7 separate regions of the Homo sapiens genome follow, and regions 2, 3, 4, 5, 6 and 7 are each linked to region 1. Evidence: promoter capture Hi-C in 16 types of primary human blood cells and fetal thymus (Javierre and others, 2016). All regions are on one chromosome and are shown on one strand. Each heading gives the region's core, a stretch centred on a gene start or on the middle of the fragment in contact. The rest is flanking DNA. Distances are from core to core; before and after follow the strand shown.

Region 1 (3,741 bases), core at 791-3,290:
CCAAAGTGCTGGGATTACAGGCATGAGCCACGGCGCCCGGCTGCAAAATGTCTGCAGCATAGCAAAATCTCAATAATTATTTATCACTCATGATAATTACCTGAATACTAAAATCAGAGAGAGTACATTAAAAAGAAACACAACGAACCATTCTTAAATAATAAAAACATATTCATCAGTGGTCTTTATTTACTAGCACCAATAAAAAACTAGAAGCTCTGTTTAGCATAGGAAATTGGTGTCATACTCACTTTATAATATCATCAGTGCTGGGTGGGGACAAAGCCATAATCTGCCAAAATCTGCACCATCCTTGCCAGGTTTGGGAGTTCTGTAGAGTAGTTACCACTGCCAGGTCTGACTGCCATAGCTCAGGAAAAGGGTGCAGTCATTTCTCTTAGCATAATCTTGAGAAGATGTCTAAGAGACCTATGTAATATTAAGTCACAGAAAGAAACAATATTATTGGTGGTTTAGACATGGAATGTAATAGCTAACAATTACGGAATGCTTACTTGTTTCAGGAACTGACGTGTTATCTCATCTAAACAATGCTACAGAGCATGGGTACTGTTATTAACCCCGTTTTACAGGAAACCTAGGTTTAGCAAGGTTAAGGAATTGCTTGAGATAACAAAGGTAGTAAGAGGCAGGGGTGGAATTTGAAGCCATATAGTCTGGTTCTTCAGGGTGTATACATCCGTGTATCTATAACCACAATGCTGCAGGGGCACTCGAACAGGCTGGAAAAGAATTATTTTTCTTTAAAGGGCAAATTAATTTCCTCAAAAGTAATCTCTGTTCACTTTATCCCATACCAGATGCTTATTTTCATTTCATATCCTAAAAGTTAGATTGGCACTTACATGCCAACTTAAAATACCTTTAAGTCTTTAAAATTTATAGTATTTTAGAATTTATCATAGTGAAACATGTACAGTCTGTTAGTCCCCAAGACAATAAAATAAGGATGATAGTGACTGATACTCCATTCCCTTCCGATGTAATGACAAACACGTAGAAACACTGTGTTTCATTTATTGGAATTATTTGGATCCAAAGGATTGCTTTTAATACCTTAACAAAATAGGTCATTAAAAAAAATCAAGTGCCTTTCAGTATTCTTCCAAGTTTCAATAACTGATCTTTTCCATTAAAAAACTTTTGATTCATTATTCCAAATCAACATATCATCTAAATATTTACACATAGTTAGATGTAGCTTTTCCCTAACCTACTCCCTTTTATTTATTAGTACTCATTTACATCTTAGTTTGCCACATTTACAGTTCTTTGAAAGTTTCATCTAATATTCACCAGACCATTCACCTCACAATTTTCCTCCCTCTTTCTAAATAGGTGAATTTGTTTACTGCAAAATCGATGGCTACGCTATTAAAGGTTACTATCACGATTTTAAAAGACATGATCACCATCATTTACCAAGATTCTTACCACAAGGAAATGATCACAAGGTTGGACAAACAGGCTCCAACTCTTAAGGGAAAGGGCTTGCAGTTAGATCACACAGGGCGGGCAGGGAAGCAAGCGGGGAGGGGTAGGTCGGAAAAGGCAGTGCTTGATTCAATTCAACATTCACTGCGCCACTTACCAAGAGCCAGAAAAAGAAAAAAAAAAAAAAAAAAAGCCAACCAGCTGGGCGTTATTTCGAGCACGGGGCCCTGCAGGTGGGCCTGTGGGCGGGGACCCGGCGCCCGGGAGGGAAGGGGCTGGCTCAGAGACTATAGACGGGCGGGGACCGCCCCGGCCCGGGCCTCCAGCGCCCGGCGCCCGCACACTCGCCAGCCCAGCTGCCGGCACGCCGGCCAGCCAGCCGCTGCCGCTTACCAGTGGCGCCTCGCTGACTCCCCGGGGGCAGCTCTTCAACGGTTCCCGCAGTCAGAGCACCACCCCGCGGTGGGGTACCTCCAGCCCGCCCGCAGCTCTCGGTCCCCGCCGCGCCGCCACTCTCGCGAGAAGCCAGGAAGTCCGCGAAGTGGGGGGAGGAGGAGCAGGGAGGGGCACTTAACGGTGGTGGCTGGTTCTGCGCCGGATCCGGGAGAGGGGCGGGCGCCATTGTGCTTCGCTGCCGACTGCATTTCCTCAGTCACGGGCCTAGAACTCCAAGGAGAAAGGCGGCGGTGCGTGTTGCTGCGAGTGGGACGCGCACTGGTCGGTGCCGGCTCAGGAGCCGGGGTAATGAGCTGCGGAGCTAGTTCTTCTCCGTCTTGGGCGCTAGTTCGGGACCAGGCCGCGAGTGGGGGAGGGGAGGAAACGAAGAGGCCTGGGGACGCGGAGGCCGCTTCCTCTCAGGATGAGGTGGAGAAGCTTGGTCCGGGGCCACCGGGGCCAAGGGGCCACAGCGCAGGCCTCCCTTGCCAGGGGCCTTTGGTCGGGTGGTGGAGTTTGTGGCGGGTGCAGGGGACAGATTGTGTGTCTTCCTCAGGGACGTGTGGCGGGTGACGGGAAGAAGCCTGAGCCCTCCTTTGGCGCGGGGCGGCCTCCTCTTGGGCCGTGGGGCGGGGGGTCTTCGGAGCCCTGCGGGCCGCGGGTGTCGCGCGTGAGCTCGCCGGTGAGCGCGGGGCAAAGGCGGGCAGGGCTCCGGCTCGGCCAGCCCGGCCTCGAGTCGAAGTGACTTCGGTAGCCCCTTAGATTCGGCCAAGATTGTCTTATTGGTAACGTCAGTTTTTGAATATCGTGACGCCCTGAGAGTTATTTTTGTGTTGTGGTGAATTGTGGGTTCTGCAACTCGAAGTAGGTGATTGTATTAAAAATGGACCTGTTGGCCTAAGAAGTAAAAATATAGAAGGCGCCGGGAGTAGGAAACTCCCTCATTTTGGTGAAACTGCGTATTGAAGATGTGTGTCCACCCCCTCACCCCAAAATGCTGCACTTAATACTTTTTCTCAAGTACCAAAGTAAATATATTGGGAAAGTCTATCTGGGTAATAAATTCGTCACGACTAATGTTGTTTGTTACTATTAGTTAAATGTGTGAAAACTGAAATTTGGCGAGGTTTTCTCCCCCATTTTGTAGGATTGATTAGCTATTTTTCTGATTACATGTTATTTTAAATCTCCACCTTTCTGTCCAGAACCAAGATGTAGGATTAAAGATGAATTTTCGATTTAAAAATCCAATAGTATACAGTTATTAAGAAGGCACACATGTAGTGTAACTAGATCTTTTACTTGAGGTAGCAAAAAGTTTGTTTGAGAAATGAGGTCAGTATAATATTTTTATTTAACAGCTCTACAGCATTTTGGGAGACAGGACTGGTGCATGAGGCAGTAGCACCAGACTCAGAAGACCTGGGTTTGAGTCTTGATTTTTGCCATAGTTATTTAAGTTCACGAGATTGTCTCAGAAACATGGCAGTTAATTTCTAGAGAGGATTAAATTTGCTGAGGTGGTGTGTGAAGCAGTCACTAGGGGACATAATACTAGTCTTGGTTTTTTTCCAAGTTTAGTGCTGGGTCAGGTGTCTTGAATTAAGAATTCCTACTTATTCAAGTACAAATGATTTCTTTTTTCTGCCACCTGGAAGAGGGCTATTTTCCCAGATAAAGCACGAGGATGCCCAGGTTATGTTCTACATGAAGGTGTCAGGTAACGAACTTGGACACAAAAGTCATCCATGACTCTCATGTAGCCAATTTTTAGTCCGCTCCATACCCACCTTACACAACTCTTTTATCTGCTCTATGTTCAAGAATCGTCTACATTTTGACATTTTATTG
Region 2 (3,741 bases), core at 730-3,229, 820 kb before region 1:
CATGAAGCTGTCTTGGTAAGTCCTGCTGTGGCACTTGCCTAGGTCTTTTCCTGCCCCCTCATCTTTTGCCCTCAGTAACCACATGCACCAGTATGGCCATAGTGGTTATTTAAAATATTGAGAAACTTCTCTTTAGGTGTGCAAGCCCCTCAAGTGTCCTCTACCACTGTCACCACCACTGCTCCCTGGAACATTCCATTTTCTCTGTCAGGCAACTAAAGGTTAAACATCTCTTCTGCATTTACACAAGGGGCCTCCAAGCCCCTGCTCAGCACCATTCTCTCTCTGCTCCCTGCCTCTGTTCATGGTTCCTGCCCCCCCCACATGCTTTTTGCGCCTCCTTCTCTCAATATTCACCTGTCCAGATAATAGCGTGCAGATTTGTTGTTGTTGTTGTTGTTGTTGTTGAGACAGAGTCTCGCTCTGTCACCCAGGCTGCAGTGCAGTGGCACCATCACAGCTCACTGCAGCCTCGACTTCCTGGGCTCAAGTGACCCTCCCACCTCAGCCTTCTGAGTAGCTGGGACTACAGGCACACACTACCATGCTTGGCTAATTTTTGTATTTTTTGTAGAGATGGGGTTTCACCATGTTGCCCAGGCTGGTCTCCAACTCCTAGGCTTAAGCAATCCACCCACCTCAGGCTCCCAAAGTGCTGGGATCACAGGCTTGAGCCACTGTGTGTGGCCAATGTGCAGCTTTTAAAAAACATGTTGCTACAAGCCATGGGGCTATATACAGGTGTGTACAGTTACAAGTGAAGACTCTCAGTAGGTTCCTCACTTGAGTTTGATTCCATTTAGGAATCATTTACTGAACCCGGCATTGTGCTGAGCTGGGGGCTACCAAACAAGGAACTCTCCTCAAACCCTCAGCTAGAAAATGTCCTCAGCTGGTTCAGACTAAGGCTACATTAGCCCAAAGGCTGAGGGTCCAATATGTCAGCTCAGCCTCTGGAGTTGAGCCGACTACCTGGCCACAAACCCTCTGCCTGTTCCTACAGAAGTTGGTGACAACCTTAGGCTTGCTCTAATGTAGTTCTCCTGGTACCAGCCACTACCAGACTAAAGCCCTTTTCTCTCCCACTAGCAGTCTTCTCTGCTTTACACCCAGATGCTCAGTTTCTCCTGCTATGCTCAGTATCAGAGGCAGTTCGTTTCCATTGGAAGGAATAAAGTGACATTCCTGGTTCACCTCCTGACTGCTAGAGGTAGGTGCCACACGTGTAACCACATACATCATATCCCACATTCAGACCAAGCAAGCCCAAGGAGGGATGGGGTGGGGGGCATTCGCCACAGGCCTCCCTCTTTCAACTCCCCCACTGTTTCAAATGTCAGTGGCAGAAGTTCTGCCGGCTCAGGAGTGGGAGGAGGCACAGTGTGCGTGTGGAGGAACAGATGGCTGCAGGGGGTTGGGGCTGAGCCATTCTCCACCCCGCTGCCCGGCTTGTCCTGGCAAGTTCGTTCACTGATGGAGCACAGCCTGAGTGTTCACAGCCCCTGCCCCGTCTCCCCAACTCTGCTCTCTCTCACTGCTGTTCATCCTCCTTGGAAGCCAGAGTCCTTCTCTCCTTCCACAAGGAATCCTGTCACACTCTGCTTCACAGCCTTTGTTGACTTGCTTGGCTACAGGATAAAATGCCAACTCGGTACCTTGGCCCAGGTCAACTCCCATGTGCTACTAAAACACAGGGTGCTCCTGCCATTCCTAAAGGGATCACACTCTCTAGACCCTACCCCAGGGCACAGGCTATTATTTCCACCCGGAATTCTTAGAACCTTCCCTCACACCCTTCCCACCTGCTAAACTCCTATTCACCCTTCAAAACCCACTCCAATATTGCTTCCTCTGGAAAGCTTTCCCCAAGGCCTCTGTGGAAAAAGAGTTGTTCCCACCTCAGGGTCCCCTCAGCACTAGGTTCATACATCTAAATCAGCATATTACAGGTCTTACTATAATTTATCTGTTTACATGTCTCTCTCCCCAACTAGTTCACAAGACCCTCAAGTACATAATGCTTGTCTTAAGTTGATGCTCAATGTATTTAGTGAATAAATGAATGAAAAGTCAAATACACACTACTTATAGATTCTTCTTAAGCTTTAGTATGCTTCTCAGGGTTATCAATGTTATCGAGCCTCTGCCTTTCCCTCCCCATTCACCCCTCCTATGGCTTAGGGATTATGGGAAAAGGGAAATTATAATGACTGTGAAGTGGAGCACCCCTGTCTCTAGAACCACGTCCCTGCCCATTTTGATATTCTCTCCTCTCTTGGAGGACCCTCTTCCCTGCCAGATTCTCAGGTAGAGAGCAAAGCAAAATACCAACTAGTGTGTGCCTGTGGCTGAGTCATTTAACATTTCTAGACTGCAGTGTCTCATCTGAGAAATTGGAGATTAGAACCAGGTGACGTCAAAGGCTCTTTGTAGTTCTGACAAGCTATAAGTCATGAAGAAAGTCGTTGGAATTTTAGGCATCCCCAAAACTAGAGAATAGAAATGTGCACAGGGCCTCTTCAGTGTTCGCATAATATAAATCTGTTTATCCATGAATAAGGCCGACCCTGGCAGTGGCTTCTTTCTTTCCTGACACATCATTCCCACCACTTCTTGTTCAAAGCCACCTCCTGAATTGTCAGCTGGGCACCTTGGGAGACTTTGTTTTTGGCTTATTAATGTTGATGGAACAGCATTTTCAACAGCTACAACCAGTATAATCCAAACTTTCCATATTAAAAAAAAATTTATTTTTTATTTTTTATATTTTTATATTTTTATTTTTTCATATTTTATATTTATTTTTTTCCCACCACCAGTCACCCCAGACTATTTGCAGAGATAGAGAGGCCTGGGCACTTGTGTTTTGTTGGGGACTCTTTGAACAACCTGTGCAGGTAGTATACTGCACAACTCTAGGGGGCTCCCTTCATACTGAAGTCATTGTAGATTTGCACGTGCATTAGGATACGTTTTTTTGCAGATGGCAGCAAAGTATCTGAGGAAAAGTTGCTTTTTCTCACCTGCACAAAGGTACTTAGGAGGTTAGCTCCAGTGCTAACTTTTTTTCAAAAGGAAACTATGCCAGGCCGGGCAAGGTGGCTCACGCCTGTAATCCCAGCACTTTCAGAGGCCAAGGCGGGTGGATCACTTGAGGTCAAGAGTTCGAGACGAATACGAAATACAAAATATTAGCCCAGTGTGGCGGCATGCCCCTATAGTCCCAGCTACTTGGGAGGCTGAGGCAGGAGAATTGCTTGAACCCGGGAGGTGGAGGTTGCAGTGAGCTGAGATCGTGCCACTGCACTCCAGCATGGGCAACAGAGCAAGACTCCATCTCAAAAAAAAAAAAAAGAAAAGAAAAGAAGAAAGAAACCTATGCCAAAATAGCATTATGCAAATTGTGGTAGACATCAATGTTTCCATGTTACAAATCAATATTTTTAATATTGTGGTAAAAAAATATATCTCACATAAAATTTACCCTTTTAGGCTTTTCTTTTTTTTCTTTTTTCTTTCTTTTTTTTCTTTTTTTTTTTTTTTTGGAGACCAAATTTTGCTCTTGTTGCCCAGGCTGGAGTACAATGTCGCGATCTTGGCTCACTGCAACCTCCGCCTCCCAGGATCAAATGATTCTCCTGCCTCAGCCTCCTGAGTAGTGGGGATTACGGGCATGCACGGCCACACCTGGCTAATTTTGTATTTTTAGTAGAGACAGGGTTTCACCATGTTGGTCAGGCT
Region 3 (3,741 bases), core at 585-3,084, 620 kb before region 1:
AATGATCACTGGGCCTGGGTACCTCCCAAAAGGAGTGCTGCAGGAGTGCTGTGGAGCTAATTAACCAGCCGGCATGAAAAGTGAAAATAGACGAGGGAACAGGGTGTTTTTTTGTTTTTTTTTTCTTCCCCTCTGTGGTGGCCCAGTACTGTGCGTAGACCTACATATACTATTTTTGGTTTTCCTTCTTAAGTATGCAAAATGACATAATGTTGAAAGCCTTTCTCAGTAGCCTTCTCCAAGGGGAGCAATACTGAGACAGTGGACTCTGGATCCCGCTGCCTGGGTTCAGACTCAGCTCTGATATATGCCAGAGTGGCCTTGGGCAAGATACTTGATCCTTTCTGTGCCTCAGTTTCTTCATCTGAAAAGGGGGCTAATAGCAATGCCTAATTTGTGGCGTGGCTGTGAAGATTAAGTTTAAATAATATATGTATAATGCACCCAGAACCCTGTCCTGGCACCTAATACATCTAAAAAATAAAAAGAGCATTTATTTTAAATTGCACCCCTCTGGGAGTTTGGGGGTGGGAGTTTTTCTGAGGTCATTTATTTTTAAAGCACAGAAACTCTTGCATGCTGATATGTCTTAAAAGGAAAACTTTGACAATTAGAGAGGAAATGCCAGTCTGTTTACTCATCTGTTTCAGGATAAGGCACATTTGTACGTTTGGTTCTATAACCATTGAGTATTAAGAATAAAACCATGCGGACAGTATTTACTGATCTCTGTTTAGATCCCACTGGGTGGATTTTTGAAGACAAGGATATGCTGTCCTGTTGGCTAGGTTTCTTGTACCCTAGGGGTTAGCTGCTTTCTTGCCTCTTAGTGGTATTGTTTGAGAATTAATCATGATTGTCTGAATAAAGTTTTTGAAAATTGTTTTCTTGGATGCATTTATTTTCAAAATGTTCTGCCTGAATGTTAGGAGATTCTATAAGACATAAAATGGCTTCAAGTGCTTTTAGTTGTAGTCTTCTGAAGGGTCCAAAAATGATACTGGATCTTGTGGAAGAAATCTTTCAGTTTTCTGTAAATATAGGGGGGGGTGTGTGTGTGTATGTATGTAGAGTTATGTGGTTATACAACCTTTAAGAAACATTAGTGCACTGTAAGGCGGGGACTGCACAAAAGGTGCCCTAACACATTTAATGCCCTAGTTAAATGCATTGCACAAGTTCCGTTTTCTGGAGCTGGATAAACAGAACATCTTTCTTTTTCTATTCTAAGCTTCTATCGCCCCACCCCACCTCAGCCACTTCAGTGGCACAATAAATGGAAATCTTATTTCCTGCCTCTGCAGACCTATTTACCTGAGTGTCTAAGTGCACCCTTGCCTTTCTCAGGCCTTCCCTTCCTGAAATATGCTTTTACTTTCATCTCCTTGCCTTCGTTGCCCTCATTTTTTAAAGCTGTCTCTAATGCTGCACTCTATGTACTTTAATCTGTGATGTTGGATGTTGCCATTCTGCATAGCTGCCTTTAAACATTCATCTCCCAGATTGACATTTTCTTCCATTATGAATTGAAATCCCTTTTCACAGCCTGTAATGGTAAAAACATTTTAAAATAAAGAACTGTTATCAAAAGCCATTTCTGCCAATTTAAAACGCCTTATTGGATGGCTTTATTCCCTTTGATAATTTTGTTATCTTTGCAAACTATGACTTTGACTTACTTGTATGCGTATATATTTTTATTTATTACGAACAGAGAGGTTCTTATAGATGTCTGTGTGTCCCCTTGCCCTTTCTGGACTTTTATTTTTGGACTTAAGGGAATTGATGATTTTAAAAGAAGCAAAGGAGTGTGTGTGTATGAGTGACAGAGGCTATATGTAACCTGCAAAGTCTGAAATATTTACTGTCATACCCTTTGTAGCAAAGTGTGCTGACGCCTTATGTATTTAAAATACTCACTAAAAATGTGTCGTTTTGGGGATCTCTATCTTTTTCCCCAAATTAAAGCTCTTAAACGTGTGAAGTGGTGAGAATGTTAGAGCCTGAGCTGACCGGTTGTGGGGAGGTTCTAGCTGTGATCCCTGTTCCTCAGGGTTACCTTCCAGGCCCCAGTCTCCCATCTGAGACAGTGTGATTGCATTTGATGCTGTGCGATGGAAAGCATTTTGGGGTAGGTGGGACTGTCTGTGGTGTGTAAATGTTCCAATGGAAACACCTGCCAGTGAAGCTGGAGGAGGTAAATTACTAGTCATTGATAACATAGTTTTCATACCCTGGAGAGGTTGCATCGTCCTACCTGGCATTTCTGCCTGCAGTAACAGGAAGGGTGATTGAAATGTGCTTCCCATCACTTAATCAAGGTGGGGAATAAAATAGGTCATAGTTAAAAGAAAACAGTATCTATTCAAGGGTTAAGAAATATGCCAGCTGTGCTGGTTGTTGCAGTGAAACATCTTTAATTCCTCTTAAATGTCTTTAAGCTTCTGCTGAGGAATGTTACATCTACTGGAGAATCTCTGGTGTCTTGTTGCCCAGAACCAATATTGTATTGTTCACGTGGATGCCCCTAAGAGATTTTCACTTTCTGCCCGTGGCATCATCGTGATGCTTTCTTTGTTTGACCGTATTCCCCTTGCCCTTGTGCAGTTAAAGCTCCTGGCTCCAGAGTGCTAGATCCACCCAGCTTTGTGCTTCCTGTTCATACATAAAACTTCTCTCCCTACTTTGTGCCTTTCTAATGAAAGGATACTGGAAGTTAGAGATCTTTTATTGCCTCTGAAAAACAAACCAAACAGAACAACATGTTTGAGAGTGATTATAGTGAGATGGTAAAGTAAACTTGAAATGGAAACCCCCCTCCCCCTCCCTCTTCTCTTAAGCCTCGTTTTATTGCAGCCTGCATAAAATCATAGTGCTGGAGCCCAGCTGCTCCAAAGGCTGAAGGTCCTCATGCTTACAGCATGCTTTGGAAACTCATCTGCACCACATTTGCAATTAATGAAAATATTTGCTTTGCTTGTTATAAACAAAGTTTATGGGCAGAATTTATAATTAGGAAACTTTTTAATTCTTTTTCCCTTCAATGCCTAATTTCTCTTGTGTCATGTTGGAGAATTATAAGTATTTAAGAAAATAAACCTTTTCTCAATGCTGTTTATTTCTGGTGGTGGTACATGTATTTCTCCCTTCTTTTGTGTCCTCATGCAAATTAAAGGACTTGAAATCTGGGTTTTTATTTGTTTTTGTATAGGTCAGTAATACTCATGTGTGAGTAGGGGAGACAGTGCCTTTGTGGCCTGTCAGGCCATCCCACAGCCATTTGACTAGCTGGGTCTGTGATTTAGCCTATGTGAGAACAGCCACAGGGCAATGTAGCTCTCTTCAAACCACATGGAAAACCAGTGTCACCTCTTCAAGGTCCCCCACACGTCTTTTGTATGTAATGTTCTGGGGCTGTGGCCTCAGTGCTTTCCAAGTTCTGATCTGTCTCTTGGTGATTCTTGCCTGTACACCCATGAATTAGGTGACGTGATGTGGTTCTTGTAGGCACAGCACCTGCTTGCATTCTCAGTGTGAGAGTGAGGTGGTGATGAGAAAACAACCATCCCTCAGCTTTTACAAGTTTGTCGGGTCAGAGGGCATCCGGCTCCACTGCGCGCTGGCATCATGGTGCAGCCTAGCTCTGCCTTAAGATCTGTTTCCTCGCCAGACAGTTGAAGGGAAAGCAGCTGGGAAAACTCGTGACCTGGCCGAAAGCCTCGAGGTGGTTTCTCAAAGATT
Region 4 (3,741 bases), core at 325-2,824, 600 kb before region 1:
GATCTTTATTTTTGCAAATGGCCTCAGAGGCACTCTGAGTTATTCAGTCTTTCACGCAGTGATTTCATGAGCTTCCATAAACATTTGTTTTATACCAGTTTATTGAGCACCAGCCATGTGTTGGGCTCTGGACTAGAGATGTGGTGGATATAAAGGTAAATAAATACTTGGCTCTAAGCTCTGGGGACCTCCCAGTTTGGCAAGAGATGACAACAGTGAAGACATTGAGGTGTCTACAAAGTGTTGTGACCTCACGGAGAAGAGCGAGACTCTCCTTTCGGAAGCTGGTAAGGGTGTGTGTGTGTGTGTGTGTGTGTGTATGTGTGTCCGTGTGTGTGTGTGTCATTGGAGGAGCCAGGTGTTTTATTTTGGCAGTGATGTCCTATGACAGAGTTAAGCAGAAGAGGGATGAAATAAATAGATTTGGTTTCTAGGACGGTAACTGTTTCACACAGGCCTCCTTGGGGTTGAGACTGGGACTCCTTGAGTCAAATGCAGTATAGTGGCTTAACTCTGCAGGGGAATGTGCAGTGTGGTGGAGGTTGATTTGAAAAAGTTTTAGGAAAAAGAATCTTTAGGTTGTGGTGACCTGTTTGTACATGAGAATTAGGGAAGGAAGAAAGTGCAGAAGGAAAGTACTCAAGGCAGGGGCTTCCTAGTCCTTTTAATCTCATGGCACATATAGGAGATTTTTGTACAGCAAATGGAATCAATGAACTGTCCCTCGGGCACTGCCCCAGACTCTGCCCAACGGTCCGGAGAGCTGAGAGAATCCATATCCTGGCATACCCTTAACTCATTTTTTGCATGCCATTGGGAAGCTTGCCGAGCTCTAGCTTGGTTTTCTTGATAGGTCAAGATTCAAAATATTCTGTTGTGCCTCATGACTTTGTTTTTCTCCCCAGTTTAATTTTCATAGTATTTCCAAGGTGGGCATTATTCCTGTGTTTTGGGTAGGAATTCTAAGGTTCTGAAAGGTAGAATTTCAGCCCTCGTTGGTCCTGGGATTCCAAGTAATGCTGTTTCTGCCCTACCACAGGTGTAGGTGCTGGTGTAATTAACTACAGTGTGGAGTGGTTTGACTTTGCCTATCTTGAACTTTGAGTGCTCCACGAAGCCATGCTTGTGAAGAGCACCAAGGAGTTGAGTGCAGAGTCTGAGCTAAGGTTGCTGGCCTCAAGAGAGAAAAGAGGATTTTGAAACAGGGCATCTGACGCAGAGGCTGTGAAGGTCAAGTATGATAAGGAATGAAAAGTACCTGTTAGTGGCTGGGCGCGGTGGCTCACACTTGTAATCCCAGCACTTTGGGAGGCCGAGGCAGACAGATCATCAGGTCAGGAGTTTGAGAACAGCCTGACCAACATGGTGAAACCCCGTCTCTACTAAAAATACAAAAAAATTAGCTGGGTGTGGTGGCAGATGCCTGTAATCCCAGCTACTCAGGAGGCTGAAGCAGGAGAATCGCTTGAACCCAGGAGGCAGATGTTGCAGTTAGCCGAGATTGTACCACTGTATTACAGCCTGGGTGACAGAGCAAGACTCAGTCTCAAAAAACAACAACAACAACAACAACAACAAAAAAAAAAAAACAAAGGACCTGTTAGCTTTTGGAAATATGGCAATTGATGACCTTTGAGCAGAATAGGCAAACTTTTTCTGTCAAGGGCCAGATAGTAAATATCTCAGGCTTTGAGGGCCACACAGTCCCTGTTGCGACTATGTAACTCTGCCATCGTAGTACAGAGCAGCCTTAGACAATACGTAAATGAGTGGTCATGGCTGTGTTCCAGTGATATTTTATGTATAAAAACACTCAGTGGTCCAATTTGGCCCCTGGGCTGTAGTTGGCCAATGTTAACTTTTGTCTCAGGAAAGGAAAGGAGAAATGGAAACTTAGCATTTATTCAACCATGTGCTAGACACTGCATGAACATTTTCAAGCCTGCAGCTTAGGTATGAACCCCACTTACAGTGAGTTGATGGAGCGCCCCAAGAGCTTAGTTATAACTTTGCTGAAGGTTAGACTGCTCGTTGATAACCAGTTGGGATTTGAACTTCAGTCTAATTCCAAAGCCTGGGTCATTTTCACTTTACTTCATTGCCACCCGGAATAGTGGCCTTCGATCACTCTCGAAAGGTGCAGATGGCACAGGAGCCCTCACACTCTGCCTTTCCACCATATCCTTCACATGACCTTCAGTGAAGCAGTGTTTGCTGCTTTACCCTCCTCTATGCTGAGGGTGAAAGGACTGTCAGGAACACAACCTAAATACAACATAGAAAGTAAAAGGACTCTCCTGTATGTGACGAGACCTCTTAGTTACCATTAAAGCTTGGGTGAACTTCTATTTTTAATAAAATTTAAATTCAGAATAGCGTTAGATTTATAGAGAAGTTGCAAAGAATGCAGAGTTCCCGTGCACTCCATACCAAGTCTCCTCTTATTAACATAGGACATTAGTATGACACACTTGTCAGAGTTAATGAACTGATATTGATACCTACTAAAGTCTGTACTTTATTCCTTTTTTTTTTGAGATGGGGTCTTGCTCTGTTGCCCAGGCTGGAGTGCAGTGGTGCAATCTCGGCTCACTGCAAGCTCCGCCTCCTGGGTTCACGCCATTCTCCTGCCTCAGCCTCCCGAGTAGCTGTGACTACAGGTGCCCGCCACCACGCCCGGCTAATTTTTTGTATTTTTTAATAGAGACGGGGTTTCACCGTGTTGGCCAGGATGGTCTCAATCTCCTGACCTCGTGACCCGCCTGCCTCGGCCTCCCAAAGTGCTGGGATTACAGGCGTGAGCCACCGTGCCCGGCCTATTCCTTTTTTTTTTTTTTTTTTTTTTTTTTTTTTAAAGCTTATTCCCAATGTCCTTTTTCTATTCCAGTATCCGAGAGGACACCATATTGCATTTAGTTGTCAGGTCTTAGACTCTTCTTGGCTGTGGTGGTTGCTCAGACTTTCCTTGTTTTGATGACCTTGGCAGTTTTGGGGAGTGCTGGGCTGGTGTTTTGCAGGTTGCCCCTCTACTGGAGTTTTTCTGTACTGGAGTTTTTCTGTACTGGAGTTTTTCTCTACTGGAGTTTTTCTCTACTGGAATTTTTCTGTACTGGAGTTTTTCTCTACTGGTGTTTTTCTCTACTGGTGTTTTTCTCATGATTAGACTGGAGTTACAGGTTTTGGGGCAGAAACCACAGAAGTGAAGTGCCTTCTGCTCCCATCTTTTGATGTACACAGTAGCTACCTGGCTTATCACTGTCTTGACTTCGATCACCTGGCCAACGTAGTGGGTGCCAGGTTGCTCCAAGGTGAAGTTATTCGTTTCCTTCCCTCCCCCTTCCATATATTAACATGAACGCATTTGTATGCATGCATAGATGCTGTATGTGGAGTGTGCTGTACTCTCCAGAAGGCAGGAAGTCGCTGTGTGCAGCCCACACTTAGGGGTATGGTGGTGTACACCACCACCATGAGAGTGGAGGATCTATGTAAATTGTTTGGAATTTTTCTGCATAGGAGATTTGTCTTGTTTCCCATTTATTTTCATCAGTATGGATTCCCGGGAAGATGAACTCCCAGTGTTGTACTTGGGTGTGATTCAGGAGTATGCAAGCCTTTCTGCCCCACTTTGTTGCCTTGTTAACTAAGGGAGGCTGAGATAAGTCCTCTCAGGTGCAGTCAGAGTCTGTCCTAAGATGGGGGTAGGGAGTTGCTGTGCCTCAGTGGTTTACTTTCTCAATA
Region 5 (3,741 bases), core at 572-3,071, 580 kb before region 1:
GACGTACCTTTAGCTAGTACAAATGGCGTTACTGTGAGCATTCGTGTACAAGTTTTTGTGTGAACATACATTCCCATAGGAGTAGAACTGCAGGGCCATGTAGTAACTCTGCACTTAACCTTTTGAACGACTGCCAAACTGTTTTCCAAAACGGCTGCATCATTGTATGTGAGGGTTCCATCCAGTCTTACGAAGAATTCCGGATTTTCTGATAATAAGCAGGGGCTGTGGGAACAGGAGGTAGGAGATAAGCCTGTTGGTCTCTCCTATGTCTGACCCGCTTGCTGGCTGCTGTGCCCCGCACAGTTACTGTGCGTCACCAGCCAGATAAGATGCCTGTGTTCTTGTGGCTGGTGCGCAGACTGTGTTGCTGTTACAGGCCGGCTGTTTGTAATCCTTGCCTCCTGACTTTAGAGATACCAAGCTACCAAATTGTCTTTGTCCCATCCTTGTCCTAGTTAGAGGAAAATCAAACCCTTCATCACAAAGCAGTCCAGGTTTGAACATGTCAAAATCACCCACTTGACCAGTGAAGACAGCTGTAGCGACTTCACAGCAAGAGAGCAGCTTTTGTTTTTGTTAGGGTTTACATTCTCAAATCTGAGCTTACTCTTTTCTTCTTTGGCAGGCCAGACTGGACGTTCCCTCGTCTGTACTGAAATTTTGTGTGTGTGTGTGTGTGTGTGTGTGTGTGTGTGTGTGTGTGTGTGTGCGCGCGCGCGCGTTTAAGGGAGGGGAAGGCACTGGCTCTTCCTCTAGGCATATTTGGGTCCTGGTAAGGACACACACTGTACATTCCAAGGCTTTGTTTGCATCTGGAAAAAATTAGCCACACTCAGATCTTTCCCACTACAGGTCCCGTCAGGAAGCCCAAGTATGTGGAAAGCCCCAGAGTGCCTGGAGATGCAGTTATAATGCCATTCAGAGAAGTAGCCAAGCCAACAGAGCCTGATGAGCATGGTAAGAATTTCAGTGATTTCCTTCCCCCTCTACCAAAGATTTTATACAATGACACTTCATTTCTGAATGAAACTTGAGTGTCCTTGCAGTACTGCTTTGCTGAGAATGTATTTGGGAGGTATTTTCCCCTCCAGCAGTTACAGAGATCTGTTTGGCTAACGCAAATTCTTGGAAATTGTATACCTGGCGTATAAATAGTTAAGTGGGTACATATGCATTATTTAAGGATTGAGTCCTATTTCCTCTGAATTTTGACCTACCAGGTCTTGGAGGATAGGAAGCGTCACCCAGTAGATTGCTTCCAAGATTTTGTTTTGTTTTTAATATTCTACTGCTTGAGAAAATTCAACAACAGGCTTTGGCTGAAAAGCTGAAACCTTAACTGGACAAAGCATGTAATTGCTAGCTTTAAAAAAAGCATTTGGTGTCTTTTGAAGGCTGCTTTTTTTAACATCTGAAGTTTTTCTTTAGGGGATGTTGAAGTAGGAGCAAAAAAAAAAAAAAAAAAACCAAATTGATGGAAATATTTTTAAAGACATTTTATATGTATATGTATTTTATACCTGGAAATATGTGTGACATTACAAATTTGCAGCATTTAACAGATATATTCATAGTTGTTTATTTTAAAAAATCAATTCAAGAATTTTCCTGTTTGTTCCTTTCTGGGGAGTCCCCAACTCACATCTCTCTTGCCTTTAATTTGGGTGTTTTGAATTTCCACCCTGTTTTTCTGCAGAAACATGGGACTAGGAATCTTGCTGTATGTAAAGGGGCTTGCTTTATCCTCAGTGTGGACAAAAGTTTATGTAGCAATGCTGAAAGAGAACTCAACCATATTTTTACTTTGGCATATCTGGCACCTTCCTCTGCCTAATTGTGGGTGGTGGGAGATACAGACCCTTTATGTCCTAACCTGTGTGTGCCTTTTGTGTTGCTGGTGCTGTATGGCAGGGAGTGGGTAATAAGTAGGACATGGGAAGACAATATACTGGAGTGGTGGTAAAAATATAGCTAAAAATGAGCTGTGAGGAAGGATCAGCAAAAGCTGAAAACTGGGAAGGGAAGGGGAGTTTGGGACATGGGGAAAAGATGGGGCCAGGCACTGGGCACTCTGGGCAGGCAAGAGGTGCTATTGCAGGTGTCTTGGCATGAGAAATGCCACCCTTTTCCTTTCTGTCCAGGCACTCATTGTGTGGTTGAGGGAAGAGGATTTGAGCTGAGGATTTGTGCACACCGAATGTTGCTGGTGAAGGTGGAGATTCCACTGTGGTGTCTGGTTAGGATAGCCAACTGCTGGTACATGAGGCCTCTCTTGATTGTGCGTTCACGTGGGCAGGCAGTCTGTTCTCTCTCTCCTCGGTGTCCTGAAAGGAAAGTAAAATCTCTCTCTCTGTAGTGAATATCAGTCATCAAATGTCTAAGCTGTCTGCCTGGCTCAGATTAAGCCTGCTACCTACCTCTTCCCTTCTTCCCCACCCACCAAAGCCTTTGTAGCCCTGGTCAATTATGCCCCTGGCATTTTGGCTGGCCTAGGCTCCATTATGTAACCTCTTCCTCCCTGGCTGGGAGTATCGTTAAGGTTCTGTACAGGGATTGGGACCTCCTCCTCCTGGTGTGGGAGTGGGGGTAGAAAATTTGGATTTTTATTAGGCAATAAAAGGTTATAAATAGTTCCTATTGTTAACTTTTCTCCCTTGCTCAAAGCAGAATTGGCCACCTTTCTTGACGAATGGAAGTGTTCTTATGCTTGGCTGTGGGCTGAGCTAAATTTCAAATGCAGCAATTGGTCTTGCTGGAGTGGCCTGAAGTTTGCATGTGTGCTCACTCCTGAGACCTGAGCTTTCTGATTCGGCATCTTTAGTCTTCATGGGGACCAAAGTTATGAGATCTATGGGCTACAAATACAGGACCAGACATTTCGGTTTCGCCTGAAATTAAGAAGCAGGGTATGTTTTCATTTTTGTTAAGTGTCTCGGGAGCAGGTGTAGTTCACGTCTGTGGGTGCATGGTCTTGCCTGAAGATAGCCATGATGTTGGTGGATGCCGCAGCAGGGTGAGCTTTCTCTTGGTTGATGAGGAGAGGTGGCTGCCTAACAAAGTCGAACAGGACAATTAGTATAGAATGGTATGTTTTGTAATCCCCATGGAGTCCCTTAAATTTCAATGGGGTTAATTAAGTCTGCCATGTCAAAGTGTAAATTTTATCCAGATCACTGAACCCAAAGGAAATGATAGAGCCGACTAAAACTAATTGAGTTTGAGTGTTAACCCAGGTGTGTACAGATACATGATGGGCAAACCCTCATTTTTAGGGTTTAATATCAGCATCATCACTTAAGTTTTACTTTAAAATGTGGTCTTCTGTTATCTATATTTCCCTTGGACATTCTTGTTTAAGTTTCTAAGACGCTTTTCTGGGTGCTGTCAATAATAGCATGCCAGTATTCACCAGACTAACAGACTCCACTGAAAACAGCTCTTTGTGAAGTGCTTTTGAAATTTCCCATGGACTCGTGAAATAGCAGGTTATTCCTAAATGCTTGAAATACTTTCCTGCCTCACTTTTGCTTTGGTCATGTAGCTCCATCAACTCTTGATTCTTAGCTCTCTGTTTGGATTTTAAATCAAAGGAAAACAAACCAAAGAACATTTTGAATTTGCTTATTTATAAGTAATTGCATTTATGTGTGATGCACGTTTTAGCCTTCTGGGAAGTGTGGGTTCGATGATGTAAGAAGATGAATTTTTTTTTGTAAGCAAATAACTTGTTTCTTAAAG
Region 6 (3,741 bases), core at 651-3,150, 550 kb before region 1:
GGGGTGCTGGTGGTGCATGCCTGTGGTCCCAGCTACTCAGGAGGCTGAGGTGGAAAGATCGTTTGAGCCCGTGAGGTCGAGGCTGCAGTGAGCTGTCATTGCACCACTGTACTCCAGCCTGGGCAACAGAGCGAGACCCTGTCTCGAAACAAAAAAAAACCATGTAGAGCCCCATTCTAGGATAGAGTGGGACTTAGGGCATTCTGGGGCTTTCCTGTCCATAGGGCTGTTAATGAGAGTCAGTGAGTTGAAGTGCAAAAAGAACTTAGAATGAAGCCTGGCATATAGTAAACAGTATTCCAATATTCATCTTAGCCACTGTTGTGATTTCTTAAGGATCATTACTTAATTCCTCACCAGTGAATTTGAAATGCTCAAAACAGACATGTAATAAACCAAGATTTTTCCTTTTCCATGAAGGTATGAGTTGGGGAAAGTATGAAATAGGGCAAGAGAAAAGATGCATTGAGGAGTCACATTCATAAGACTGTATTCTTCTTATAAGTGGGCAGAAAGCTTTACTCCTAAGTTTCCTGATAGCTAGTGGAAAGAGAGAAAACACATGTGGAAGGTGGTGTTTATAAAGACAAAAATGTCCATTGCCCAAAATGGTACCGGGTCTGGAGACGCATACCTCCTTGTGGACCCCCTAGAGGGGAGAAGCCAAGGTTGCAGCAAGCCCCTTGCTCTTTTCACCCTTGTCTTCTCTGTAGCTCAAAGAGAAGGTTCTGATGAATTGTTTGTGGCATATGTTTGGTATCTCTGGTCCTTAGTTCCTGAACAATTCTGGGCTAATGCTGTAGTCAGGTTACAGTTAGCTTTCTTCTTGATGTTCATTTAAGCCTATAACTTGATTTGGATCCCACCAAACTACCTATAGGGCCCTGGACCGACACTGATTTTATTTTTCTTTTGCTGATTCTATTTTAAGTGTCCATTCAACATAGAACCTTCAGAAGGCAAGGGGTAAAGTTGGATCCTAGCACTTTAGGAGGCCAAGGTGGGTGGATTGCTTGAGCTCAGGAGTTCAAGACCAGTGTGGGCAACATGGCGGCACCCTGTCTCTACAAAAATATAAAAAATTAGCAAGGTGTGGTACCTGTAGTCCCAGCTACTTAGGGGGCTGAGGTGGGAGGATCGCTTGAGCCTTGGAAGTTCGAGGCTGCAGTGAGCCGAGATAGCACCACTGCACTCCAGCCTGGGCAAGAGAGTGAGACCCTGTCTCAAAAAAAAAAAAAAAAAACTTTGGGAAGGTGAAGAAAGAGTGCAGTCGTATTTCAGAGCCTTGCAGAGCAAAGCATTTGATGACTGAGTGGATGACTTTTTAACAAGGCAGACTTCATGAACTTTTAGCCACAGATAATTAACTCCTTTTATGTAATGAGCACCATGCAAGCAAATGGTGTTTTAAAAATACGCTGTATGTATAATCAGAAGAATTGGTATTAGCTATACCACTAATTGTGCATACACATACGTGTGTGTGTGTGTGTGTGTGTGTGTGAGAGAGAGAGAGAGAGAGAGAGAGAGAGAGAGAGAGAGAGAGATCAGGTTCTCTGGAGCCTTTTATCTCTATAAGGTGGGGTTGATGGTTCTCAGCCTATCTGCCTCCTCTCATGGGATGTGATCAGGTATACGCCCTGTTATATTAAGAAAGTGAGCCAGGTGCAATGATGTGTGCCTATAGTCCCAGCTACTTGGGAGGCTGATGCAGGAGGACTGATTGAGGCCAGGAGTTTGAGACCAGCCTGGGCAGCATAGTGAAATCCCATATTATTCAAAAAAAAGAAAAGTGTTTTGGAAGTATTCTACCCCTGTACACTAGTACAAAGGAAGATAAGACACTGTCCTTGAGACTAAACGGAATGTAACACTAAATTGTGAGGCACAGCCTAACCTCACAGCCTTATAAAATTTAAGGCCTGATAAGTCGCTCAGTTTCAGAATGCCCTGTGTCTCGAGGGTGGCTGAGACCCAGTTTGGGTGATGATAGCAAGCTGTAATTGACAAAAGCTGCCATCTATACTAGTCCAAAGAACAAAATGCTAGAATTTTTAAATTATTAAGGCAACTATAAACATTAGCCAGTCTCTGGGAAATGTCAAATAGCACTTTTTAGAGATTTTTTTTTTTTAAGTCATCACAGTTAAGATGCTGCCCTTGATGTGTACGTGTACCCACAAGCATTTTTGAGAGTGATTGACTGGGTTAACCTGATTAGGAGTTTGAATTTCTGTAAGGTTGGAAGAAAGAAAGATGTCGTTTATTGGAAGAACCAGCTTTCTCTTCTTGGGGACTCCGGGGCTGCCATGTTTGGTGTTGTTCTTAGGTTATGCAGGGAAGCCAGACTGATTTGGCCTTCATCTGCTCAGCTGGATCTGCCTCAGGGCTCGGATGGAGCTGAGCCAAGATGAGAGTGTCTGGGCTTCCACCTGTGTAGGCTACATCTGATATTGAATCCCAGGAAGGAGTGTCAATGGAGTGGCTTCAGATTTTCCAGCCTCCCTGCCTCTGAGAACCCTGGGACATGTGGACCGTGGAATGCCTCTCTCACAGGAACTTTGTGAGGGCAGCAGAAGGGCTGCCTCTTCTTCCTCACTAGTCTCCTTCATATAAACACTGACCTTACAATATGTTCATTTCTAAATGGTTACCCCATCTGGGACTTCTCTTCGCAGTGACTGCTCCTGCAGCTGAGCCCTTCCTCCCCCACCCCTTTTCCTTCCTCTCCCTGCCAGGACCTGAGTGTTACCCCTCCGCCCCCTCTCCCCCTCCACGAGATGCTGGGCACAGTGTAGGGCACATGTCTGCCAGTGAGAGCCACACCTTCCACCTGTCCTGCCATCAGGAGCTCTGACCTGGCCTTCCCAGCCATCCTCAGCTGCTCCATGGGTCCCTGAGGTCCTGATTGCAGTGCTGTCACTTGTAACAGGAAGTGAGCTAAGTCCTTATTTCCCCTGCTTGAGGTCCTAGTTAGGACTCAGATCTTTGGGGTTTGATTCAGAAGTGCTTGGCACTTAGGGAGAGCACTTTGACTTTTGGTTTAATTTTTCAATTTACAAATACGTGCTTTCCAATGTAACAGCCACAAAAATAAAACCAAACAAATCCCCTATCTCCCTAGCCTGGAACTCTTCCTGTCACTTGGATGTTGGAGTAGCCTGTGAACCTAACTTATTACAATATGTCTGAGAAAAGCATTTTGAGTTGCAAATGCTGGATTTAAATGTGAAGGTTTGTAACACCACAATCTGTGTTATGGGATGGCCCCCATTTTTATGCTTCAAGCTTATTAACAGGATTACCATTAATAAGCAATAATCTTATCAATAAATTAGACCACTCCTGAAAAACATTAGCACACTTCTAGCATATAGCAAACCTTCAGTAAATGCTAGCTTCTGCTGTCAACACCACCATTGGCATTTTTATGATAGAAAGAGTCATACTTGCTATGCCTATGTTCATATAAATGGTCTATTTAAAAACACAAGGAAGGCTGTGATTGATTCCAAAGAGGTGGAGGTATGGTTTAATACTGCTGATGGAACACTGGCAAATGCTGGGAATCATAACGATGGGCACCCAAAATCAGATCCTGAACTCTGGTAAGTGAGATTAAGTGTAGTGTCTCTGACCACAAATGGAATTGAAGTTTATTCATTTGCTCATTCATTCAATTAGCAAGCATTTATTGAGCACTTACTATGTGCTGTGCTGTGCTATTCAGAAAAGGAAAAG
Region 7 (3,741 bases), core at 545-3,044, 530 kb before region 1:
ACTTCAGAAACAATAGTGGGAAGTCTTTTTAAAAAGGCAAAACTCTTCTTTGCTTTTAGGTGTCAGATGTGCTTAATCTTTGGAATGGGGAAGAGATGGGAAGGGCACATGAGGCTTCTGGGAGCTGAGGATGTTTTGTTTCTGGGTGCTGGTTACATAGGTATATTTGACTTAGTGAAAATTAGTGACACTGTGCAATTGTCATTTGTACACAAATCATATGTTCATTGTTAGACTTCAATTTAAAAGTTTACTTTAAAAAAGCAATTCATAAAATAACGTGCTATACCAAAGTAGGCAGCTTTGTTAAGATGCGCTGTCGTTGAGACACAGCCCAGGGGCAGACTCAGATTTCCTGATTGGGTTACACAGCCCCAGTGTTTGCTGCATAAAGAAGGATGTCTTTTATCTTGGCGTCTGGCCGTGTTCTTAGATGTGCAGTGTTGGTTGGTGTTTGTCCTTGTTATATAAGCAGTTTCACAGTGTAAGGATTATGGGTATCAGGTCACCTGCAGAGTCTCACTGCCCTTACTGGCCCTGGCCTCGTTGCCGCTGTCTGCACAGGGCTCTTACTCTGCTTGCTAGGCTCAGGGTCCTTGGATGAGGGCCTCAGGATAGCACTTACTGATTCCATCTCCCATCAGGATTTCTTTCACATAAGCTTTTTATCTTCACCTTATCCTATTACACGTTTTAATACAAAACAATGAGTCCCTGTAATCCATGAAAATCCTCCTTGAAACAAAACTAGTGAATCTGGTTTAAAATGCTGTTAAAATAAAAAAGGAATCTCTTTAGAGTGACACTGTGGGTTTTTGTTTTCTCCCCCAGGAAATCATAAGTGCGCTGCCATTTGTCAAGCTTTCCTTAGATGACTTCCCAGACAACAAAGACATCCACAGTGACCTGCACGCCTACGTCCAGCACAGGGTGCACAGCAGCCAGGACATCCTCAGCAACATCTCCCTGAATGGCAAGGCCGATGCCACACTCATTGGAAAAGTGAGCAGCCACCTGGTGCTGCGGAGCCTCGGCTCCTACCTGTACCTCAAGCTCACCCTGGACCTTTTCCAGAGGGGCCACTTGGTCATTAAGAGTGCCAGCTACAAGGTGGTGCCCGTGTCTCTCTCTGAGCTCTATTTGCTTCAGTGCAACATGAAGTTCATGACCCAGTCCGCCTTTGAGAGGGCACTTCCGATTCTCAACGTGGCCCTCGCATCCCTCCACCCCATGACAGACGAGCAGATCTTTCAGGCTATTAATGCTGGCCACATCCAGGGGGAGCAGGGATGGGAAGACTTTCAGCAGAGGATGGACGCCCTCTCCTGCTTCCTCATTAAGAGGCGAGACAAAACCCGCATGTTCTGCCACCCGTCCTTCAGGGAGTGGCTTGTATGGAGAGCAGACGGGGAAAACACGGCCTTCCTGTGTGAGCCCAGGTACGGCAGGCGCTTTCTTTCAGCTCTTTGCAGGGAATCTCGTGTGCAGTTGGGGAAAGGATTTAAATGTGATGCACGTGTCTCAATGGAAGGGCAATCCAGAATGACTAATTCAGTGTTACTGCTTTGTTTTATTATTTTTCTTCCTTTTTGGCAGAAGGATGGGCAATGGGGAATTCTCTATACAGAAGCTGCCTTCTAATTGCTAGGACTCCCTTATGGATGGTACATGTGGATAAAAGAGAAGCTGGGTGGTGCCTGTGTGGTCCTTCCTTACTGTCCATTGTCTCATGGAGCCCCGTCTCCTCCCCCACCCAGCTTCTGCAGGATCATGCATGGGAATGTGTGAGATCAGCCCCTGGGAACAGGGGGCTTCTCTAGAGGGAGTTCCCTGTGTGTCTGCAGACTGTCATGGGTCCTCAGCACCTCCACTCCCCTGCCACCCCTTGAACATGGAGTGACTTGTCCCAGGGATCAGGTATATCTGTGAGCCCAGAGGGAGCACCATGATCCAATCTAGCCTCCCCGCTCCACACCCTTCACCCTTTGTGGATGAGCTCTGTGTGGTGGACTGGACCAGGCTGGGATGCAGTTCTCCTTGCTGCCTGGGCCGCTGTTATCACAGTGGGATGGGGAAGGAAGCCTGTCTGCTGTGTGGCTTGGTAACAGTGTGAGAGGTCAGAAAGTTTGAGGATGCAGATGCGTTCAGATATGTATATGGCAAGCCCCCAACTTCCACTTGGCCCTGGCTTTGGCCTGTGTCTCTGCTGTCTCGAGTGGCTTCGGCTATCTGTGAGCCAGAATTGCCCCCTGCTGTAGTAACAGGGCTGGCAAGCTGCTCAGCTGACCCCTTAGGCATTTGACCAGATGCTGGGATCCAGAAATGAAGAGGTGAACAAGCATTGGTGAGCCCTGGGAGCCTCACAGCCACTTTCCTCCCTGTGAATATTGACTGAACATCCACCTGATAGGCCTGGCTGCTGTTCATGTTGGGGCTGTTATTATTTTCTTCAGTAACACTGGCTGAAGGTTTGTTGTTATCTTTTGAACCTGGTTTGGGGCAATAAACTAACATCCAGGTTATTTAGCCAGACCATAATAGCTAGGTGAAACATGTGCTGTGACATTTCTAGCCAAGTCAGATTACTTTCTAGGGAAATTCCAGTCATTTTCTAGGAAGATTGACTATAGCTGAGTTTGTAGAGACATAAAAACAAATTGAAAGACTCCATCAGGAGTGTAGGTTGTTACTGGGTTGGAGGCTAAAGTGGCTGGACTGTAGTCTTCATTAAGCTTCGCTTCATTTTGGGTATTGGTGGGCATTGAGGTTATGTAGCCTAGGTCAGAGCTAGGGTGGGTGCCTGTGGGCTCCTGAATGCCACTGTGTTCTTAAAAGCAGGCATGGGGACATCCCCTGGGGCAGGACCTGGACTAGGTGGAGGCAAGAGAGGTACCAAGGGTGCAGAATTTAAGGAAGCACCCACTCCTGGGTGGTGCGAGTTGTTGCCATTTTCCCAAGACACCTGTAGTATTTGAGCTTCATTCAATTGAGAGGATATAGAACAATGTTGGAAGGAAGCTACTGGATTCAGTTCAGCAACAGTTTTTGTTATATGCAGTTATGTGCAAAGTACTGTGGCAGACACCAATTGTTGGGACAAGGACCCTGCTCTCAGGGCTTCCCACACAGGGCAGGGGAGGCAGGAGGTGATATGCGAGAGGGAGGCACACTTCATGTGGACCTCACAAGAGGGAGAAGCTCCCAGCGTAAGTAAAGGGGCCTGGGGAGGTGATTTTAAAACATGGTGATGGTGGGTTGGGCCTCGAAAAATGGTAGCATTTCTTCCCCAACTCCCAGTTGTCGTATTTTTGCCCTAATTATAAAAGCAGAAAATTTCAACCCTCAGACAAAGACAGTTCATTTTTTATTTCTGCCTCTTTCTGTAGCATTTTAAATGATATACCAATCTTCTTTTTCTCTTGGAATTCTTATCTGGGTTTTTGCTTAACACATCACGGGCACCTTACTAAGCTGTTAGAAGTCTTAGAAAAGTGTCATTTTCATTTTTCATGGTTGTGCAAAACTCCTAGGAGGCAAATTATTATGTACTTCACTATACCCTCATTGGATTTTTTTGCTTTTTTTTTTTTTCAGACGGAGTCTCGCTGTCGCCCAGGCTAGAGTGCAGTGGTGTGATCTCAGCTCACTGCAGGCTCCGCCCCCTGGGGTTCACACCATTCTCCTGCCTCAGCCTTCCCACGTAGCTGGGACTACAGGCGCCCGCCACCTCATCCGGCTAAC

The links. The method cuts DNA at HindIII sites, captures the fragments that hold promoters and counts their contacts. A CHiCAGO score of 5 or more calls a contact.
Region 2: a contact is called between a fragment that was not itself captured here and the fragment with the promoter of MARCHF7 in region 1, in 1 of 17 cell types (megakaryocytes). The highest score is 5.5, in megakaryocytes.
Region 3: a fragment that was not itself captured here is called in contact with the fragment with the promoter of MARCHF7 in region 1 in 1 of 17 cell types (fetal thymus); the score reaches 9.0 in fetal thymus.
Region 4: a fragment that was not itself captured here is called in contact with the fragment with the promoter of MARCHF7 in region 1 in 1 of 17 cell types (megakaryocytes); the score reaches 7.6 in megakaryocytes.
Region 5: a fragment that was not itself captured here is called in contact with the fragment with the promoter of MARCHF7 in region 1 in 2 of 17 cell types (megakaryocytes and naive CD8 T cells); the score reaches 11.0 in megakaryocytes.
Region 6: a fragment that was not itself captured here is called in contact with the fragment with the promoter of MARCHF7 in region 1 in 3 of 17 cell types (megakaryocytes, fetal thymus and erythroblasts); the score reaches 9.7 in megakaryocytes.
Region 7: a contact is called between a fragment that was not itself captured here and the fragment with the promoter of MARCHF7 in region 1, in 2 of 17 cell types (megakaryocytes and erythroblasts). The highest score is 6.2, in megakaryocytes.

Annotation. Positions count from the first base shown.
Region 1 is chr2:159,710,466-159,714,206 of GRCh38, forward strand. It overlaps MARCHF7 (membrane associated ring-CH-type finger 7), which reads left to right and starts at 2,041. Exons shown (of 12, transcript NM_001282805.2): 1 at 2,041-2,141. It also overlaps a transcript of BAZ2B not described here. RefSeq lists silencers at 1,490-1,999, 2,520-2,639 and enhancers at 1,616-2,282, 2,050-2,329. The HindIII fragment of the contact is 3,093 bases long and covers 1-2,326 here.
Region 2 is chr2:158,891,857-158,895,597 of GRCh38, forward strand. No RefSeq gene overlaps it. Among named protein-coding and RNA genes, the nearest start is that of TANC1, 75 kb to the right of the region's middle. RefSeq lists an enhancer at 1,585-1,754. The HindIII fragment of the contact is 244 bases long and covers 1,858-2,101 here.
Region 3 is chr2:159,090,921-159,094,661 of GRCh38, forward strand. The region is part of intron 3 of TANC1 (tetratricopeptide repeat, ankyrin repeat and coiled-coil containing 1); the gene reads left to right. Among named protein-coding and RNA genes, the nearest start is that of MIR6888, 94 kb to the right of the region's middle. RefSeq lists an enhancer at 1-199. The HindIII fragment of the contact is 1,210 bases long and covers 1,230-2,439 here.
Region 4 is chr2:159,114,879-159,118,619 of GRCh38, forward strand. The region is part of intron 4 of TANC1 (tetratricopeptide repeat, ankyrin repeat and coiled-coil containing 1); the gene reads left to right. Among named protein-coding and RNA genes, the nearest start is that of MIR6888, 70 kb to the right of the region's middle. RefSeq lists an enhancer at 3,739-3,741. The HindIII fragment of the contact is 1,511 bases long and covers 820-2,330 here.
Region 5 is chr2:159,135,339-159,139,079 of GRCh38, forward strand. It overlaps TANC1 (tetratricopeptide repeat, ankyrin repeat and coiled-coil containing 1), which reads left to right. Exons shown (of 27, transcript NM_033394.3): 5 at 856-960. Among named protein-coding and RNA genes, the nearest start is that of MIR6888, 50 kb to the right of the region's middle. The HindIII fragment of the contact is 3,835 bases long and covers 1-3,739 here.
Region 6 is chr2:159,158,215-159,161,955 of GRCh38, forward strand. All of the region lies in intron 7 of TANC1 (tetratricopeptide repeat, ankyrin repeat and coiled-coil containing 1), which reads left to right. Among named protein-coding and RNA genes, the nearest start is that of MIR6888, 27 kb to the right of the region's middle. The HindIII fragment of the contact is 2,772 bases long and covers 515-3,286 here.
Region 7 is chr2:159,177,725-159,181,465 of GRCh38, forward strand. TANC1 (tetratricopeptide repeat, ankyrin repeat and coiled-coil containing 1) reads left to right here. Exons shown (of 27, transcript NM_033394.3): 14 at 832-1,439. Among named protein-coding and RNA genes, the nearest start is that of MIR6888, 7.2 kb to the right of the region's middle. The HindIII fragment of the contact is 1,871 bases long and covers 860-2,730 here.